3 separate regions of the Homo sapiens genome follow, and all the other regions are linked to region 2. Evidence: promoter capture Hi-C in 16 types of primary human blood cells and fetal thymus (Javierre and others, 2016). All regions are on one chromosome and are shown on one strand. Each heading gives the region's core, a stretch centred on a gene start or on the middle of the fragment in contact. The rest is flanking DNA. Distances are from core to core; before and after follow the strand shown.

Region 1 (4,261 bases), core at 1,408-3,907, 290 kb after region 2:
ATCACGTACCTGCAGCTGAACTAACACACCAGACGTTCTGTACTCTGACAGTTCGAACCTATCATGACTGTTTGGGATCCTGATTTGTCCTCCGGTGCGCTGCCTGCCTCTTTCAGTCGGGTCTTCATCAGAAGCTGAGTGTGGGCAGCTCTGCCTTCACGGGGCAGCCTTTGGGCCCTTGGGTAAGCCTACTAAGTACCATCTACTGTTGCTACCTTCAGCAAGAAAGAGATAATTCGGGGCTTCAGAATGGATAAGCAACGTGGGGGTTTATCTATATACGCAACAGTTCAGGTTGAATCTCTAACCATCTCAAGAATAAACGGCTAAAAAAAAGCAGCCGTGAGCTACTAGAGGGACATGCGTCTTTTCCCTACAGGAGACAGCAGAACAATTTCATGCCCTCTCTGTTCCATAGCAGCCCAAGTTGCCTCCAAACTCCCTAGGCAGAAGCTGGGCAACGGGCCGAGGCTCCTCCGAGCTGCTCTGCCGCCCTCTGGTGACCGACTTTTGCAGCAGCTTCAAAGGAGAAAGGAAGCCTTAGACGGTCCTTCTCAAGATAGGGAGAGGGAGGACTCACCAGGAGCTACTCTGGGCTCAGGGGGGAGGAAGGGAGGACAGCCTCCTAGGTAGCATGAGCCTTCAGTGATGCTATAAAAAGGAAGGGGGAAAATTAGGCAAACAGAAGGGTTCCATTTTGTAACGGAATAGGGCACAGAGAGATGGGCTCTCTTCGACAGGGTTTGCTTTCGCTGGCCACCTAGTGCACATCTGAACCCAGCGGAGTGTCTTTTCCTGCCAACCCCTTTCTTTCCTAAAGTACAGCCTCACTTTGGGGCCTTTATGCACACGAAATACACATGAAAAGGATCTAGCCAACATCAGGCCTACTTTAGGTCTTCAATAAACATTAACTCCACTGAAGAGATTAGAGGAGACTCTGCACCTGGGCCGTCCTAGTTTCATTGCCCAAAACGCAGGGCAGGAAGTGCTGCCAAGATTTTCGCCAGAAAGAAGAGACAAGTGCCAGGTGGGTTTGAGAAGAATCAATAAACTATGAGTAAATCCCACTAAAACCCCAAGTCTACTCTTTTGGGAAAGCTGCCCCAGGAACACTAGGACCTTCCTTTTATGCACCCTGAGTTGATACCGAAGGAAGCAAGAGAGCAGCAAGTTTCAATGTGTACTTTTCCCATCTTTAATTCCCTCTCTCTCTTTAGAAAAAAAAAATTTTTTTTATAGAGACAGAGGTCTCACTATGTTACCCAGGCTGGTCTTGAACTCCTGGCCTCAAGGAATCCTCCTGCCTCAGCCTCCCAAGGTGCTGGGATTACAGGCGTGAGCTACTGCATTGGGCATTACTTCTCAATATGGGACAGAGAGGGTAGGGAAAGAGGTCTGGAATAAGTGGGAGGGGGAAGGAGCCTTCCAAGTATCCTCCCTAAGAGAGGAGCACGAAGAAATCTCTACCTCCCCAACTCCCCTCCCAGGCTGAAATCCCTCTCTGGGGAAACTCCAGCCTCAGGTAACCTTTTGAAGGGAGGTGTTCTGGGAGAATGTCAGGCAGAAGGAACACAGCATTCTAACACTTCCCTTTTATGGCCCTGGGGATAAGACCCAGTAGAATAGGGCCGGATTTCTCAATTTCTTGCCAGAGAGGAGAGGATTGCATTTCAAAAGGACCTAAAACAATTAGACCTCAGATCACACCTCCATCTAAGCAATAGGGTGGCCCAAGAATCCTTGGCCAGCAGTGGGAGAGGGGAAGGGACAGGAATCCAGAAGACTTGGCCCTCTCCCTCTCATCTTTTCTTTCGTCTGACCCCTTCCCCCATGTTCACACATCTCTTTCAAAAGAAAAAGCTGGGACTGGATGGGGTTGGGTTAGTGACAGCTATCAACACTTTGGCCGACATTTCTATCTCTCTGTCAAAGGTTGAAGTGGAAGAGGCAAAAATCCAACAGACATTCAGGGCTGCAATTTCTGGTTCTCTACCCAAGGCTCTTTTTTGCACTGAGACACAAAGGCAGTGGCGGTGGGCGGCTCTCCTAATCCACTCTAAGTCAACTCAGATGTCCTGCCCCCTCTCAGTGAGTCCCAAGCAACCTGCCCCCTCTCAGTGAGTCCCAAGCAACCTGCCCCAAGTGAGGCTGGAAGGCAGAGAGCTAGAGGAACATCAAGCGTGTGGTTTCTGCAGCCTCCCAGAGCCTGCTTCCTCGTGTGCCTCTCTCGTGGTGCACACTGCTGCCAAGCCTAGAGAGAGCCCACTTAGGCTGCCTTTGGGCTCTCCCTGTGCCAGTCCTGAGAGAGCTTAATTGCTCCCAAACGAGACGAGTGCAGTTCCTTGGCCGAGCCCTCTTGTAATGGCCTCTTACCTATCTGCATGACTCTCCCAAAGACAGATGCGTTGTCCGCTGTGCTGCAATTCCACCGCCGCTGCCGGAACTGGTGCTGGCATTCCTTGATGCCAGTCTTGGCTCCCTCCCCTATGTAGGCCATGTGCTCCTGGTACAATTGGCACAGCTTCCTCTGGCCAGGGGAGAGCCCGGGAAGCTGACTGCACACGGGCTGGGCACCGATGATAAACATCTCGGGTCTCTGCACCGGGTTCAAAGCTAATGACCTAGGACAGCAATCCAGAAAGGGGAAAAAAAGGCCCAGGAGTGAGCATACGCCTGTGTGCAGCATTAAGTCATTCATTCAACACATTTATTGAATGCGTCCCTGTGTACAAGGCCCTGGAAAGAAAAATTAGTAAATCAGAGTGCTGGCCTTCAAAGGACAAACTGAAGGAATCTGAGGCATGAACACAAAGGACATGCGAGATGCCAAATGCCCCAGACAGACTCTGGATATGCTTCTGGATCTGCTGTGATCAGATAGGAAAATAGCCCTTATGGCTGAAGAGAAGCCTTTATAAGGAAATGGCCAGAATTTGAACTGGATCTTAAGAATGGGGGTCAGGCAGATAAGAAGACGAGGGGTGGGGAGCAGCTCTTCATTTTAATAGAGGGCAAAAAGAGCCAAACCTCAACAGGAGAGCACAGGCCTCATTCAATGAGTAGGAGTGACTAGTTCAGTGCAGCCCAAGTACATGATAAGCCATGGAAAGCAATCAATCCTTTGCGTGGTACTCCCTTTGGGCCTTTAAAATCCAATCACTTTACATACATCACGATCTAGTCTACTTGTTTTCACTGCCATGTCTCACTTTGAGCTTCCCCTCATCCACTCTCCACCAGTTCAGAGGCTCTCCCTTTTGCTCATCATCTACCAGCCATATAGAGTGTTAGATGAGAAGGCTGCAGATTTGCTATCTGAGTAAAAATGCTAGTGGCAGAGACCATGCAAAATAGGTGGTGATCGCCTGCCATTTCCCTGTCAACTTGGCAATGACAACAGCCCTTAAAACATAAGAAGAAAGCCAGCCACCCATGGTGCTGTGAACCCCTCATCTGGCCTTCAGACTTATAAAAGAGGAATTCTATATCCTACCAGCAAAACACACAAAACAAAGGAACAAAAAACTACCAAGTATTGATATTCTTGTTGACCCAAGAGCAATTTCTAACAATTCATGGGCATGAGGGAAGGTCCAAGGAAAAGGAATGTGGACAGGATTAGAGAAAAAAATCAAATGAACGGAACCTTTATCCTCAGGGAACCCTTACAAAGATAAGGGTTGAGAGAGACACAGAGCGTTCTTAGTTTTCCTGGGATAAAAGAGGCCCTTAGTACTCCCAGGAATCAAGGTACTACCGTGACACACGGTGCCCTTCCTCCTCATCTCAGTCGCTGAAGGAGGCCTCCGGCTGTGCAGGCAGGACCTCAGCCCCTCTTACTCACCACCAGGAGTTGGCGTCTGTCAGAAGCTGAGCCCAGCTGGACAGCAGAGCAGCCGTGAACAGCAGCAGCAGGCTGGGCATGGTCGGCCTCAGCCCTCCCCAGTGCCCTGGGACTGACAGTTTCCAGAGTAGGGTTCCCTGGAGAAAACAGAAATGGAGAGTCAGTGTGGAAACTCAGCGGATAAGGGCAGACCAGGAGCCGGGGTGAGGCGGAGAAAGTTGCACTGATGCTTACGTGCTGCGTGTTCCCCACAAAGAAGCTCGGCCTCTTTCCAGCCTCCGCCTCCCACTGCTCATCTTCCCACCCTAGGACTTCTGTCTCTTACCCCAAACTGTGGGAACCCTGCACAGGACCTAATTTCCAAAGAAATAATGAGCTGAGAAACCACAAAGAGAAATGAAAACAAGTAATTTC
Region 2 (3,862 bases), core at 462-2,961:
TATTGGGCCACAATAAAAAAGTTGAAAAAAGGTGAATATTTATTCAGTTTTAAAAATCATTCCAAATTACAAATTTTAAGAAGCTGGTGAATTCCACCAAATTCACAAAACCTAGAGAAGTTACATTCTTTTTATGTATTGACTGCCCAGTGTGCCTCTGTAGTATTTTTTCTAAATGTGTTTGATTTGTAATCCTCAAAACATGTACAAAATTTATGTGAAATTAAGGCATTCATAGGAATCATTTAGATGCCTTTAAAAAATACATTGTATTCAGCCACAAAACTGTGCCACCAGATTACTCTGATACTACAGCACTGACTTATTGATGAATCTGTGTAGGAGTTTTGTCATCAGAACACTTGCTTCTGCAAGCATTTCTCTGCGTTGGTGGCAATTTTGCTTACCATTTTGCTGGAACCACCAGATTTTGTGAAGACACAGTGCACCAGTTACACTAAGAAAATAATCTGATACGGGGACTGCATAAAATCTATGACTTCACCCCCGGAGAACCCATGTGGTACTACTACTGGTTTGGGCTCACAACACAAGAATTTTGATCAATTCTAATTTGTGTAACTCTCATCAGAACACAAAGCAATGTACGGTGTAATTATATTCTTTCAATATCCACTATTTTCCTAACAGGAGAGAACTTCTGTCCTGGCCAGGCCTTGGTGAGAACCAAATCCTCCACCAACGATGTTACCTGTGTGGCTTTTTGTAGATTTTCTGCAGATGAGCTCCTGACTGTTACTTTGCCCTCCCCACCACACATGGCCAGGGTGGGTGTGACAGCGTGCGCTCACATCACGGCCCAGCCTCTCTTGCTGCATCTGCTGGTGGGATGTCCTGTGGGATGAGTGTTCCTGGAAGCCCTGCCTACACTCAGCTGGAGGTAACTTCTCTGTACAAAGAAGTCACTGTGAACCATGTCAGCATATCCCACTAAGCCCAGATTAAGTGTTTCCCCAGCTCACTTTCCTCTTAACTGGATCCCCCAAGTGCCCTCAGCCACCCAAACATCATCCAACTAAGAGTCCCTCAGACGGAAGAGAAGTTGGGATGGAAAGAGACAGACAGTCTCAACCGGTTATGGTTAAACTATCTCAACTTTTGCATATTTTACAAAAACATTTGGCCACAGGAACACATTGCTAGGGCCTCTCCGGGAAAGGGGGGAGTCTGTGGATTCAGGGGTCCTGAAGCTTCATCAGTTGCACAGCAAATGCGTCCCCAGCCCCGCCCACGAGCAGCTGAGATGTGGAGGCGTGGGTCCACTGACTTCACCTATGACCTATGACCTGTCCCAAAGGCACCAGGCCTGGAAACACCAGCCAGAGTCCCAGCTCTGCCCCTGGGACTCCCCGGGCCTCAAGAGCCTCTGCCAAGCAGGGATGAGGACACACCCCCACCTCAGGGTCAACAAGAGATTTGTGGGTCAATCAGAGTACTGTGCAAACTCAGCTGCTGTCCTCTGGCCATAGTCACAGCAAGCCCTTCCTGGGTCCAGAAGGTGGTTCCACAGGAACGGGGCTGCCTCTTTAAAGCAGAGGGGTGCACTATAGCCCTGAGGGAACCAGCTGCAGTTGTGGTAATCTTGGGAGGCAGCTCCCCACCCCCTGCCACCCCCTCCCTGCTGTCAGGAGAGGATTAGAGGAGAGGCCAGCGGATTAAAGGGTTTCATGTTGCCACAGCCTCTCCCCCAGTCCCTGTCTCCGAGGCCTGCTTGCTAGGTGGGGCGACTCTTCTGTGAGCTGCAGCTGTGGGGCAGAGAGAAGCCCTCCCCACCCAGGACTGAGAGGCTGGAGACCCCAGGCTCGCCAAGGCACGGAAGACAAAGGCCTGGGGCGTCCTGGGGTCTGGGAGGAAGGCAGACAGAGCTCATGGTCTGTGGCTGCTCTGCCCTCCTTCCCCTCCCCAACCCCAGGCCCACCATGCCTGCAACTCCCAACTTCCTCGCAAACCCCAGCTCCAGCAGCCGCTGGATTCCCCTCCAGCCAATGCCCGTGGCCTGGGCCTTTGTGCAGAAGACCTCGGCCCTCCTGTGGCTGCTGCTTCTAGGCACCTCCCTGTCCCCTGCGTGGGGACAGGCCAAGATTCCTCTGGAAACGTAAGCATCACGTTCAACCCCACCCCAAAAACCCGGTCACCCTTTCCCACTTTCTTCCCGGGCTGGGCCTCCATCCTCTGCCCACTCCTCCCGCCCCTGCCCTCCCTCTGGGCTTTTCCCCAGTGGCTGCGACTGACCACTCTCTTGCTGTAAAGCCCTTTGCTTCTCCGGCCTCCTCTTTCTCCTCCCAAAAGCTCTGTGAGTTCTGGAGTCCCACCTGCCTCTCCCCAGGAGCCGGATGGCTTTAGGAAGAACTGATCATCAGGGCTGCTGTCTTCCTGGCCTGACAAGCAGCTTCTGGGACACCTGAAGGGCGGGTGCTCCTTCAGGATAATCGCTGAGATGAGGCAGCCTGGAGGAGCCGGGTTATCTCAGCATCGCAGCTCCCCGAAGCATTTGGCAGGAAATGCGTATTTTGACATTCCAAAAAGGGGAAGCAGTTCTGAACCCACAGAACGTCTCATGCGCACAGGAGGTGGCTTGTCCAGGAACTGGGGAAAAAAATGGATTTTGGTGGCCGCAGTCTTCCCTTTCTACACCTTTCTGCCTCCTTCCAACCTTGATTCTCTAGCCGGCCATTAAGACCGGCTCCAGGAAAGAACCCGGTATCAGTCATGTGCACCTTGGTGTACATGTAAATTACTGTGCAACCTCTCTGGGGTGTCTGTGTTTTAGGCCCTAGCTCAGGTGGTCCTAGGAAGGAAATTTCCAATACATGTGGGTAGCAGAGCCTTCTAGACTGTAGGTGCTACAGACCCCATCCTGTTTACTCCAGCCGCTTGAGCCCAGCACCATAGCCAGGCCACCAACAGAGCCACCTGCCAACTGCATGTCTTAGCAGGAGTGGGGACAGGGAGCCTAAATGACACACCGTGCCTGTGCTTAGCCTTTGCTGACCAGTGGATTAGGCAGCATCGTTTCCCATCGAGCCGCATAGCTCTCCTTGTTCCCTGCCTGGCACGGAGCTGGGCGCTTCACAAATGACACCGTTAGTTTGCAGAGCCATTCAGTGGGGGCTTATTTTTATCCCTATTTTGCAGCTGAGGAAACAGAGGCCCCGAGAGGTCAGGTGACTTCCCCAAGTTCACAAGGCCAGGAAGTGAAGGTGCTGGGATTTGAACTCCTGTCAGCCTGGACTGCACTTTCACCATTACACCCGCCGCCAGCCCGTAACGCTATCTGTTGCTGCAGGAGATGTTCAGAACAATTTTCATCCCCAGAACACACACCAGCTGATAGGAGAGGGCCAACTCCAGGAGTGGGCTGAGGGCCAAGTCGGGGTGGCTGGAATCCAGGCCTTCAGGGAGGGGGGCCCCAGCGGCCATCTATGCAGAAGCCCTGGGTGCTGCCAGAGACAACAGCCTGCACACAGCCTCATCTGCCTGCCCAGGACTTGGCCCCACCTGTCCTCACTCCCGCCGAACCTCTCTTCTCAGTCTTTCCCTCCAGCCGGGCTTCCACCTCCTCCCAAGTCTGTTTCCACAGGGTTCCCAAAGCCCTCCTCATGCCCAATCCAGGAGACATTCCTGGCCTTGTCACCCCAGACCCTGTTGCTTGGGACACACAAGCCCCCGTCTTCTTTTATCCCAGTCCTTGACTTCCGTGGCACTGCGCTCCGCTGGGCCTGCATGGGCACGGCTTATCTCTGCTGTCCTCAAGTGCTCCTCCTCCTCTGCCTGCCCCGGAGGTGGGGGGTGCTCCCCAGCAGCTGTCGACGCTCAGAGATCTCACGCTGCACACTCTCCT
Region 3 (3,781 bases), core at 948-3,447, 270 kb after region 2:
ACAGGCATAAGCCACTGCATTCAGCCTTTTTTTTTTTTTTTTTTTTTTTTTTGTGGAAACAGGGTCTCACTGTGTTGCTCAGGCTGGTTCAAACTCCTGGTCTCAAGTGATCCCCCTGCCTCAGCACCCCCAAAATCTTGGGATTGCAGGCATGAGCCACCGCACCTTGCCTGTTTACTTTAGATTTGGGATCCCCAAGTTCCCCCTGCCATATGCCCCTACCAAATGAAATCTCTCTAGTCACTCTTCTCATTCAACATTCATGGTGGCAAGACGAGGAAGATTATTGTACACTCCCTGAGACTTAGAAGGAAATGGGCACCTGTTATTTCAGCTGACCAGATTCCTTACCCAGAAATCCACCTGAAAGAGGTCTGGAGTCAGCATGAATTACTAGCTGTGTGAGGTGAGGGATGCCGCTTCACCACTCTGAGTGTTAGCTTTCCCATCTGAAACACGTGGATAATATTGGCTACACTGCAGAGGCCCTGAGAGGATTACATGTAATGTATGTAAAGCAGCTGGTACACAGTAGTACTCAATAAATGGTAGCTATAATTATTACTCACCTCCTTCATCATAATCTTCAAGCATGAAAAGTACTGTGGGTGTCTTGAGGGTCCAGCCGAGCAGGACAAGGCATTCCTTTCATGTTTTCTTTCCTAACTGCATTGCCCTCCTCACTCATTCTTTTAAAACTAAGTAAAATAAGACTGACCTAATTCTTCCCACATTTATCCAAATGAAAAATCTAGAACTCAGCTTTGCTGCTCTCCAGATTCTGTTTTCTGCCATCAATCCGCAAGGACACACCACCCAACTTTTTTTTAAATTTACAATTTTTTTTTGAGACAGAGCCTTGCTCTGTCGCCCAGGCTGGAGTGCAGTGGCATGGTCTCCACTTACCACAACCTCTCCCTCCCAGTTCAAGCGATTCTCCTGCCTCAGCCTACTCAGTAGCTGGGATTACGGGGGTGCAGGCTACCACACCTGCCTAATTTTTTTGTATTTTTAATAGAGATAGGGTTTCACCTTGTTGGCCAGGCTGGTCTCGAACTCCTGACCTCAAGTGATCCCCCCCCCCCCCCGCTTCGGCCTCCCAAAGTGCTGGGATTACAGGTGTGAGCCACCGCGCCCAGCCAAAAAAAAAAAAAAAAAAATGTTTTTTTGAACCAAGGTGCGGGCCAGAGCTATTCGGCTAGAACTGAGAAGATAGCGACACTGTGTGGTCACATGCAGAACTGCAGACCAGTCTGGAGTGGGTTCCAGGCTGATCATTTGCTCCGACCTAAGGCCGTGATATCTGTCAGATGAGACGTTAGGTCCATTAAAAAGTTTACTTGCATGTTAGAAAATAAAATGAGGAAGGAAACATAGCACCTAAAAAGCGTGAGTGTAATTATTTCCTATTTCACAGACGTGTCCTGCCTGTCATAGCATTCAAGGTCTATATGGCTTTTGCTGTCAAAACAAAAAGGACAAAAGAAGGCCAGCCACAGGGCGTAAGTCAGTTTTCTTTCTTTCTTTCTTTCTTCTTTTTGAGACAGAGTTTCGCTGTATTTGCCCAGGCTGCTGGAGGTGCAATGGTGCCATCTCAGCTCACTGCCACCTCCGCCTCCCGGGTTCAAGCGATTCTCCTTGCCTCAACCTCCCAAGTAGCTGGGATTACAGGCACCCACCACCACGCCCGGCTAATTTTTGTATTTTTTAGTAGAGACGGGGTTTCACCATGTTGGCCAGGCTGGTCTCGAACTCCTGACCTCAGGTGATCCGCCTGCCTTGGCCTCCCAAAGTGCTGGGGTTACAGGCGTGAGCCACCACACCCGGCTGTAAGTCAGTTTTCAAATGCCTGCTGGGTGCCCCCAAGAGCCGTGGAAGATTTGCAGAAACATCCTGGCAACCCTTACCCCTCTCAGGTCTTACTTTTTGGCATGCTCAGACCTTGAAGAATGAGGAAAATGTATGAAGGAAGCAATTGATACTGTAGAGTGGTCCTGTCAGAGGGAAGATACCTTTAAATCATCCACAGGGATGACTGGCCTTCAAATACAGCTCAGTATTGAAAAATGAATGCACCTGCAGGGCAGAATACCAGCCAGGGGCTGTCACTGACTCTAGTCTATTCTCTGCTTCTTAGCAACTTGGCTGCCTGAACCCTGCAAGGTAGATGAATGGGTGTGTGTCCTATCCTGGGTTATTCAGAGAACAGAAGCCTTCCTCTTCACACTAGTGGGCTCAGGTTTTTCCTTATTTTAGACAATCCTCAGGACTTGTTCCATAATTATGCATTTTCACAGATAAAAGACTCCTCAGTAAAGCTATCATGAGAATTTCCAGAGTAAATACTTAGGGGTCTCATTCACACCAACTGGATTATGTGTTCTCTGGATCTAACCATCCGCCGAGAAATTTATGAGAACGTGAGCAGTTCCTCTCACCTTGATGAGTTCTTCAGCCCCTCCACTCATTGACTTGAACTGCTGCAAAGTCATGCAATGGTGGACAGAGCCCTGACCAGAAGCCCCTCCTGGGAATCTGGGACAAGGACCAGGAGAGATTCAGAGTCCCTTCCTGGGGCTGGAACTGTGAGAGAGAGAGAGAGAGAGAGAGAGAGAGAGAGAGAGACCTCAGAGGAGAGAGGAGGAAGGGAGAGGGATCCAGAGGTGTCCAGGTCAGCTCCTGAAGACCCTGGCGTCTTTGAGACTCTTGGGACCCTCATGTCATACTCCTTCTTCATAATCTGACTCAAATTGGTTTCTATTACTTGCAATTTTGATAGAACAAATGATATGATGGACCACGCAGTTAATCACATTATGCCTCAGTTTCCTTGTCTGTTCATGAAGAAACATCATTCATTCATTCACTCAGCAAATATCTATTGAGTGCTTTCTTTGTGCTAGGCACTGTTGTGGGTGATGGCAGACATAGCAGGGAACAAAAGAGGTATCAAAACTTCCCTTATGAAACGTAACTGCTGCTAAGAAGTCTCTGGAAATAAATATACGAAAGACGTAACTTCCAAATCAGGGACCAGCCGAAGAGCTGGCTGACCCAACAGGCAGAGCACCAATATGGAATGAGGCCAGGGTCACTTCAAACAGTACTCACTCCTTTTGGCTTTACAGTGAGATTGGATCAAAAGGGTTCACCTTTTCTATAGTGTCTGTTCTTTCACGTCTTTCCTTGGGTCCCTGCTGAAGTCCCCTCCTGATATTCTGCTGAAAGCCTCCCCACCACCCGGTTTCCACACCAGCAAACCCTCTCTTGCCCCGAGTGATTTGAGTCTGTTTCTTTCTCTCTCTTTCTCTCTCTCTGTCAATACTGCAGTTTCCTTCTGGCTTTGGCTGTGAGCAGCTTTCAGTCTATTTTCAGTTCTCCTGTGGAGCAGCAGATAATACACATACATCTGTAATTCTTAAAATCTCATTGGAACCATCCCTCCTCCCACCCAGTTGTTTATCACAACGACTTAGAAGGCCTAAATTAACTGATTCAGCTCTGTCTTCTACTGCTGCTTCTGGTAGGGCTGCAAATGAGCAGCATGAAGACCAAAAGGCCTGCAGCAAGAGGGAGGAAGCAAGGACTGGAGAATCTACGTGAGGAATGCCCAAACTCTGCAACAAGCTAGAAAATTAACTGTGGATGGCTTCAGTCTTCCACACTGCCTGACGTCTGATCCTCACTGCTGGGCCCAAATCTTCTTACTTCAGAGAAAAATGGGCAAGCTCCCATACTTCTTATGTAAAACCAGAATTAAAGCACCCACCCTTTACTTACT

What was found. The method cuts DNA at HindIII sites, captures the fragments that hold promoters and counts their contacts. A CHiCAGO score of 5 or more calls a contact.
Region 1: a contact is called between a fragment that was not itself captured here and the fragment with the promoter of CACNA2D4 in region 2, in 4 of 17 cell types (activated CD4 T cells, megakaryocytes, fetal thymus and 1 more). The highest score is 5.9, in activated CD4 T cells.
Region 3: a contact is called between a fragment that was not itself captured here and the fragment with the promoter of CACNA2D4 in region 2, in 5 of 17 cell types (neutrophils, non-activated CD4 T cells, monocytes and 2 more). The highest score is 7.8, in neutrophils.

What each region holds. Positions count from the first base shown.
Region 1 is chr12:1,631,021-1,635,281 of GRCh38, reverse strand. WNT5B (Wnt family member 5B) reads right to left here. Exons shown (of 5, transcript NM_032642.3): 2 at 3,848-3,984; 3 at 2,377-2,624. The coding sequence starts at 3,927. Among named protein-coding and RNA genes, the nearest start is that of WNT5B, 3.9 kb to the right of the region's middle. The HindIII fragment of the contact is 5,946 bases long and covers 1-4,261 here.
Region 2 is chr12:1,916,501-1,920,362 of GRCh38, reverse strand. CACNA2D4 (calcium voltage-gated channel auxiliary subunit alpha2delta 4) reads left to right here and starts at 1,711. Exons shown (of 38, transcript NM_172364.5): 1 at 1,711-2,116. The coding sequence starts at 1,890. RefSeq lists an enhancer at 3,062-3,638. The HindIII fragment of the contact is 3,790 bases long and covers 1,214-3,862 here.
Region 3 is chr12:1,650,448-1,654,228 of GRCh38, reverse strand. No RefSeq gene overlaps it. Among named protein-coding and RNA genes, the nearest start is that of MIR3649, 8.0 kb to the left of the region's middle. The HindIII fragment of the contact is 5,972 bases long and covers 1-3,781 here.